2 separate regions of the Homo sapiens genome follow, and region 1 is linked to region 2. The links are contacts of gene promoters, found by promoter capture Hi-C in blood cells and fetal thymus (Javierre and others, 2016). All regions are on one chromosome and are shown on one strand. Each heading gives the region's core, a stretch centred on a gene start or on the middle of the fragment in contact. The rest is flanking DNA. Distances are from core to core; before and after follow the strand shown. Region 1 overlaps IFT122 (intraflagellar transport 122). Region 2 holds the start of TRH (thyrotropin releasing hormone).

Region 1 (3,952 bases), core at 380-2,879, 510 kb after region 2:
AACATAGATGTGGGTCAATACAAAGGTGAGGACAACTGCACTGTCTCTGCCAGGGTGAGTCAGGGAAGGCTTCCCAGAGGCAGCAACACCAAGGGAAGGCTTCCCAAAGGCAGCAACACCAAGTTATGCCTGTGCCCTCCCAATCTTGTTACCATTTCCTTTGCTGGGGCCCTTCCTGTAGTCTCTGATGTCTTACCAGAGTAAAGGTCACCATTCACTGTCTTGGTTTCCACACAATTTAAAGAATAACTGTCAGCCTCCCCTCAGCCATTGAAGGTAGAGAAGTAGTATTAACTCTCTCAGGATAAAATCACCATATTCTGAATGCATTTTAGCATTTTTAGCCCAGATTTTCAGTTATTCCAGGACAGGACATCAGGAATCAGAACGTACCAAAGTCACTGGAGGAACAAGATGCCAGTTGATGAGTAATAGGATTGTAGGAGACACATTGTATAGCATCATTGTGCCTGGGAAGTAAACAACTGTAGATTACTATGCAGCAAACCACAAAGATTTCAGTGGCTACAACTGAAGATTTTAATAATGAGCCCACAGCCTCTGACTTTAGACCACATGCTCTTCTGCAAGTGACCAACAAAAAGCACAGAAATTAATTCTCCTACTCCTAAAGAATTAATTCTCCTTCTCCTCACCCACTGTTTTCTTATTTGTAGAGATGGGGACTCACTTTTGGCCAGGTTGGTTTTGAACGCTTGGCCTCAAGCAATCAATCCTCCCACCTTGGCCTTTAGGTGCTTTATCTGTGGCTGTTACTCTTACTGTTTTGTGGAGGCCCAGAAATGGAAGATGGAGGTGCAATGAAGACATCACAGACCAAGATCTGGAAACATGACAAATCCTTAGACAACAATGAAAGCTGAGCAAATCATGTACCATGCAAGGCGTCTCAACCCGTTTTAGTCCTTCACTTGTGGGTAATACTTTACTTACAACTTCACTCATTCATTCATTCCTTCAAAAATTGTTTGTTGATTTGTACACCCATGTTCATAGCAGCATTATTCATAATAGCTAAGAAGCAGAAGCAACACAAGTGTCCATCAACAGATGAATGGATAAAGAAAATGTGGTCTATATATACAATGGAATAATATTCAGACTTAAAAAGGAAGGAAGCTGAGCCCAGTGGCTCACACCTGTAATCCCAGCAGTTTGGGCGGCCAAGGGAGAAGGATTGCTTGAGCTCAGGAGTCATAGTGAGACCTCGTCTTCATAAAAAAAAATAATAATAAAGAAAAAAAAGGAAGTAAATTCTGACACATGCTACAACACAGAAAGTAAATTCTGACACATGCTACAACACAGATGAGCCTTGAGGACATTACGTGAAATGAAATAACTCAGCCACAAAAGAACAAACATTGTATGACTCTACTTATATGAGGTATGTAAAGCAGTCAAACTCAGAGAGACAGAAAGTAGAATGCTGGTTTTCAGGGGCTGGGGGTAGGAGAGAAGGGTGAGTAGGTATTTGAAGGATATAGAATTTTAGTTTAGCAGGATAAAAGAGTTTGGGAGATTGGTTGCACAACAATGTAAATGTATTTAACATTAAACTGTAAACTTAAAAAGTAGTTAATATGATAAATTTTATGTCATGTATATTTTACCACAATTGAAAAGAGGCCAGGTGCAGTGGCTCGTATCTGTAATCCCAGTACTTTGAGAGGACTGCTTGAGCCCAGGAGTTCAAGACCAGTACAGGCAACAAAGTGAAACCCTGTCTCTACCAAGAAAAAAAAAAATTTAAAAATTGGCCTGGTGTGGGGGTGTGCACCTGCAGTTCCAGCTATTTGGGAAGCTGAAGTAAGAGGATTATTTGAGCCTGGAAGGTTGTAGTTGCAGTGAGCTAGTTACCACTGCACTGTAGCCTGGGAGACAGAGCAAGACTGAAAAGAAAGGAAGGAAGGAAGGAAGGAAGGAAGGAAGAAGGGAGGGAGGGAGGGAAGGAAGGAAGGAAGGAAGGAAGGAAGGAAGGAAGGAAGGAAGAAGGGAGGGAGGGAGGGAAGGAAGGAAGGAAGAAGGGAGGGAGGGAGGGAAGGAAGGAAGGAAGGAAGGAAGGAAAGAAGGAAGGAAGGAAAATTGGTGAGTACCAATTATGGGCTAGGCATTGTATCAGGGACACAAGAGTGAGAAAAAAAAAATAGATGTAGTCAGGAGATCGAGACCATCCTAGCTAACATGGTGAAACCCCATCTCTACTAAAAATACAAAAAATTAGCCTGGCATGGTGGTGAGCGCCTATAGTCCCAGCTACTCGGGAGGCTGAGGCAGGAGAATGGCGTGAACCTGGGAGGTGGAGCTTGCGGTGAGCCGAGATCGTGCCACTGCACTCCAGCCTGGGCAACAGAGCAAGACTCTGTCTCAAAACAAAACAAAACAAAACAAAAAATAGATGCAGTATCTGTTCTTATGGAACTTACAGGCCGATGAGCAATACTGATCAGTCACCAGAATAAACCTAAAACTGCAATTGTGAGAAATGCCTCGAAAGAGACCTGTTCCAGTCTAGAGAGGCAGGAAAGTCCTTACAAAGAAACTGACATTTGAGTCTGAGATCTGCAGGGTAAATAGGGACCAACTAGTAGAGGAACAGGGGAAGAACACGGCAGATCCCCAATAGTAAGAGGAGGCCTGGAGCACACTGACCCCAAGTTTCTGACATTTGACACTGGGTGGATATAAGGCCATTCTCTGAGACAGGGACACTGGAAGATGACAGGTTGGGGGTGGGATAAAGTCTACAATGTCAGATGAACTGAGATGAGCTACATAAAAGCACCTAGCCCAGTGCTGGCCACGCCAGTAAGTGGCCAAGAAATATTCATTAACTTATTCACTACTCAACCTTCCTATACCAACCACACACACCCACAACTTAATTTCAAGTTCAATTTAAGAGAAAAAAGTTTTCTCCTACATCTTTTCTAAGAGGCTTTTGCTGCAATTATTCAATAAGCATCAAACTCATAATACTGTACACCTAAGTTACTTACGTGTACTTCAGAATGCCTTCCAGTTTTGATGTCCAGATAATAACGCTTTTGTCAGCTGATCCAGAAGCAAAGCGCTTGCCTAAAAGTGTTTGTAAAATGGAAAGTCTTACATTTATCTTAAACCAGCATTTCCCAGAGAGAATTCTTTAGAAAACTAGTTCTTTAAGGTACCTAGTAAGTGTTAGCTTCTTTCCTAGTTCTTATCAGTACTGGGAGGCAGGACCTTGGAGTCAGAATATTTGGGTTCCAAACCTGCTTTGTCTGACACTGAGTAAACAAAGATGTATTGGGAGCCTACTACATGTAGCTGTCATGTTCTATGCTAGGGATTAAGTAATGATTAAAACACACATGATCCCTACTTTCATAAAGTTCAGTCTAGTGTAAGAAGTACACATCAAATTAATCTAACACAAATACAACATGGTAAGACACGGATCCTATGAAAGAGAATAACTGGGGAACCTGATTTACTTTTTTACTTAAATTTTTATTTTTGACAAATAATAATTATATCTACTTATGAAGTACAATGTGGTATTTTATATACATACACATTGAAGAATGATTAAGCTAATTAACATATCCATCACTGCAGATACTTATTTTTTTATAGTGAGAACATTTAAAATCTATTCCTGGCCGGGAACAGTGGCTCACACCTGTAATCCCAGCACTTTGGAGGGCTGAGGCGGGTGGATCACGAGGTCAGGAGATCGAGACCATCCTGGCCAACACGGTGAAACCCCGTCTCTACTAAAAATACAAAAACAAAATTAGCCGGCCTGGTGACGGGCGCCTGTAGTCCCAGCTACTCTGGAGGCTGAGGTGGGAAAATGGAGTGAACCCAGGAGGTGGGGCTTGCAGTGAGCCGAGATCACGCCACTGCACTCCAGCCTGGGCAACAGAGCGAGACTCCATCTCAAAAAAAA
Region 2 (3,968 bases), core at 910-3,409:
GGGTTACATCGACTGACCATGAAGCCTCATCTTCTCGTCGGCCAGGGTGCTGCCGTTTGTGGGGTCCCACAGCCCCCCCTTCTTCCTCTTCCTCTTCTTCAACTCCCTCTTCCTCCTCCTCCTCTCTTTTGCCTGGATGCTGACGTTTGGAGAGCCAGTCAGATTGAAAGATCTGGGACGCTGGGGAAGGAAAGAGGTCAGTGAGGGGCCCCTGACCCATGTAATAGGCAGGCGCCTGAGTGCCCACTCCTGCTTTTCTCCCAGGCAGGGTACATTTCCTGCAGCTCCCACTCAGAGGCATGGTCTTGCACCTGCCCCTCAGGCCTCACAGATACACACATTCACACAATAGTCAAAGGCATTGCCTCTGGGTTCCAATCCCAGCTCTGGCGCTCCCTAGTTGTCTGACCATAAGCGACTCAATTGATCTCTGGGAGCCTCAGTTTTCTTCTGTGTAAAATCGTAATAACAGTACCTAACTAAGAGGTTGTTAGGAAGATCAAACAGTGTGATAAGGTGTTTGAAGTGCTTGGAATAGTGTCTGGCACAGAAGTGCCTAGACAGTAGTAATTCAAACTGTCACACACAAAGAAACTCTCTCCCTAGCACACAGAAGCTTCCCCACCCAGGGCCTGCTCTCTGTGAAATATTCCCAGCATTGAGACAGGGGAGGAATCTGACCCCGAGGAATGGTCAACTCCAGATCCCGCCTAGGCGCAGCCAGGGAGGGTTTCTGAGCTTCCGAAAGGCAGAAGGCTAGCTGACCAAGCCTCCCCTCCCCTTTGCCGGCAGGTTTCCACGGCTCTCCCAATAGCCTAGCCCCACAGCCCCCAACAGCCCCATCCACTCACCGGAGTGCTCACCCTGGTCCCCTTGCAGCCGCTGGATGTTTTCCCGGAGGAAGAGGAGGCGCTCCACCTGGCGCAGGAAGTCATCCAGGCCCGGATGCTCCGCGGCCGTCACTGCCTCCTGCTGGGCCGCCTCTGGCTGAGCACGGCCGCCGGGGACACCGGTCAGGTTCAGGGTCAAAGCCAGAGCGAGCAGCAACCAAGGGCCGGGCATCGCGGCGTCTGGGTTAGGGGACAGAGGGAGCCTGAGCGCACCGAATCACAGCACATCCCGCTCCATCTCCCCCGACGCCCGCCAGAAACAAACCACGCACAGTTCAACCGCCCTCCCAGAAGCAGGACCACTGCCCCTCGTGCAGGGGCGGGAGCAGCGGCGGGTTCGCCCCGGCTCTGCGTCCACACCTGTCACCTCTAGGCGTCCTCGCCCCCACGGGTGCCTGTAGTGCCTGCGCCCAGTTCTGCTTGCGCAAGGCAGGAGGCCGTAGGAACCCCATCGCCAGCGCCACCGCCACCCTTCAATGTGACGCGGAACTGGGGAAGCCAACGCTGGGACTGCCTCGCCGGGAGTGCAACCATTGAGATTGCAGCGCCAGGCACAGCCGCGACGCTAACGGTTGCGTCCCCGCCAAGACTCCCCCAAAGGTCCCCATCGCCACGTTCTAACTCCAAGCTCCGTGGCCGACGTCCTCATTCCAACGCGAAGATCCCATTTCTATCGCTAAGATTCAGGTTCTAAAGCTCAAAGTCTATTTGCAAAGCTAAGATTCTATTTCTAATGCTAAGCTTTCATGACTAAGCCAGGAATCTGATTCTAACGCTAAAATCCTAACTTCAACGCTAAAATTCTATTTCTAGCGTTGAGATTGGGATTCGAACTCCCAGGTTCTCAGGCCGACGCCCTGAATACCCAGCTCTGTCCGGCGGCACCCAGGCAGGGGGTGCCGCGGAGCTCCCACCCCGCGCTGCGGACTCTGGCGACCTGAGTGCCCAGCAGCGAGAGCCTCCGATGTGCCCGCGCCGTGCCTCCCGTCGGGTCCCCGGCCTGCGCTCGGGGAGGACCCGGGGGTGCGAGCACAGCGCCCGCCTGTGCACCGGCCCTGTTCTCCAGGAAGCTCTCAGAGAACCGAAGGTGAGGGCGGGCCGAGAGGGCTCCCTTTCCAGTGCTCCCGGACACCGTCTGCGGAAGGAGAGGGGTTGGGGCGGTTACCTGCCAGGAGTGGGCTCCACAGGATGGGTCCGGGATCCGGGGACTCGGGATCCGCAGTCGGCAGGTCAGGAGTCTGCAGCGCTGAGGACCCCGGGCGCCTGCCGAGCCCTCTTCAGATGGGCCGCCGCTTATATCTGCGCCAGGCGGCGGCTCGAGTGAGGTCAGCGGGGAGGGGTCGCGGCCGCCGGGAAGGGGCGCTGACGGCAGCCGGCCCCGCGGGACCCCGCCCGCCTGCTCCTCCGGAAATCTGGGGCGGGGACGGTGGGGACCGGAGCCGGGGCGCGGAGGCACTGGCCGCAGGATGGGGCGCCGGCGCGGGGTCGTTTCTGCACCACCTCTGGAGATCTGTTGACGAGAACACGCGTGTAGGGGGCAAAGGGAGGGACAGAGAGATTGAGAGAAGCGCACGATTAAACACAGGCGCACGAGAGAGCTAGAGGGCGAGACAAAGACCGAGATCCACACGGAGACGACGGAGAAACACAGGGCAGACACACACGAAAGGGACACGGCCGCAGAACCAATGTAGAACGCAGACGGGCGAGAGTAGAGCAAGAGAGAGAGAGAGAGAAAGAGAGAGAGAGAGAGAATGGGGGGCAAGTGGGAGCGGAGCTCTACTTTTTTTTTTTTTTTTTTTAAAGAGATGGGATCTCGCTTTGTCCCCCAGACTGGAGTGCGGTGGCGCGATCACGGCTCACTGCAGCCTTGAACTCCTGGGCTCAAGTCATCCTCCTGCCTCAGACTCCTGCGTCTCTGGGATTACAGGCGTGAGCCACCCCGCAGGCTCCAGGGTGCTAATCTTAACTGTGTCATTCCTGGCTAGTGCCTCCGTTTCTCTGGGCCTCAGTTTTCTCCTCTGTGTAATAGGAGCCAGAGGAAAGCTTTCAGAATTCCAAAAGTGGCGGCCTGTAGGCTACAACCAGTTCATGGACAATTTTGATTGACTTCCACAGTGTTTTGAAAAAAATCTGAATAACCAACATTTTAAAACCAAGATAACTTAGAAAATTTTGGATTTATGGCTTCTCTTGAAAAAGAATGGGCCCCCATTTCCTCCTGTCAACAGCCAGGTGGAGCTGAGCCTGGCTGCTCTCGGCCACCACAGTCTCCACCACTCCCTAATGTCTTCCAATGTGTTGCCCCTGTCACTGAGGAGGGACATTCGAGTCTGCAGCCCCTGCACAGGAATCTATTGGAGTTCACCCAACTCTAGCAAAGGAGGGGAGGGGAAGCAGGGAGGAGAAACACATGGGTGCCAAGGAGCTTGCCCCCCGAGTCAGTTCCCAAAGTCCCAGATGTGGGACTGCCACATCTAGCCCTGGGGACTGCCTCCATCTTGAAACTTTTTTTTTAAAACAGGGTCTCATTCTGTCACCCAGGCTGGAGTGCAGTGGTGCAATCTGACCTCACTGTAGCCTTGACCTCCCCAGTTCAAGGGATCCTCCCACCTCAGCCTCCGAAGTAGCTGGGACTACAGCCAGGCACCATAATTTTTATGGCTATTTTTTATTATTATTTCTTGTAGAGATGGAGTCTTCTTATGCTGCCCAGGCTGGTCTCGAACTCCTAGACTCTAGCAATCCTCCTCCTTGGCCTCCCAAAGTCCTGGGATTACAGGCATGAGCCGCCACACCCGGCCCATCTCTAAACATTTAACAAGCACCCACTATGGTGTCAGACTCCTTGGTAGGTCCTGAAGGCCTAGAAGTGAATGAGGCTCAGCCCCAGCCCTCAAAAAGTTCAGAGGCAGTGAGGGAGACACTGCAAACATGAAACCTCAGGCTTGGTCTCCCAACTAGACTCCAGGATTTGAAGAAATGCCACCCTAGCTAAGATGAAATCAGATAGACCTGTTGTCTTTTGTACACAATGACGAGGGTATAAATTGATCCAATCTTTTGGGTGGCAATCTG

The links. Contacts are between HindIII fragments. The CHiCAGO score rates a contact against its expected background, and 5 or more counts as called.
Region 1: a fragment that was not itself captured here is called in contact with the fragment with the promoter of TRH in region 2 in 1 of 17 cell types (neutrophils); the score reaches 7.5 in neutrophils.

What each region holds. Positions count from the first base shown.
Region 1 is chr3:129,457,746-129,461,697 of GRCh38, reverse strand. It overlaps IFT122 (intraflagellar transport 122), which reads right to left. Exons shown (of 30, transcript NM_052989.3): 4 at 3,021-3,099; 5 at 394-470. Among named protein-coding and RNA genes, the nearest start is that of IFT122, 19 kb to the right of the region's middle. The HindIII fragment of the contact is 7,734 bases long and covers 1-3,952 here.
Region 2 is chr3:129,972,911-129,976,878 of GRCh38, reverse strand. It overlaps TRH (thyrotropin releasing hormone), which reads right to left and starts at 2,159. Exons shown (of 3, transcript NM_007117.5): 1 at 2,056-2,159; 2 at 852-1,070; 3 at 1-180. The coding sequence starts at 1,062. It also overlaps the pseudogene LOC124906284. The HindIII fragment of the contact is 1,305 bases long and covers 1,634-2,938 here.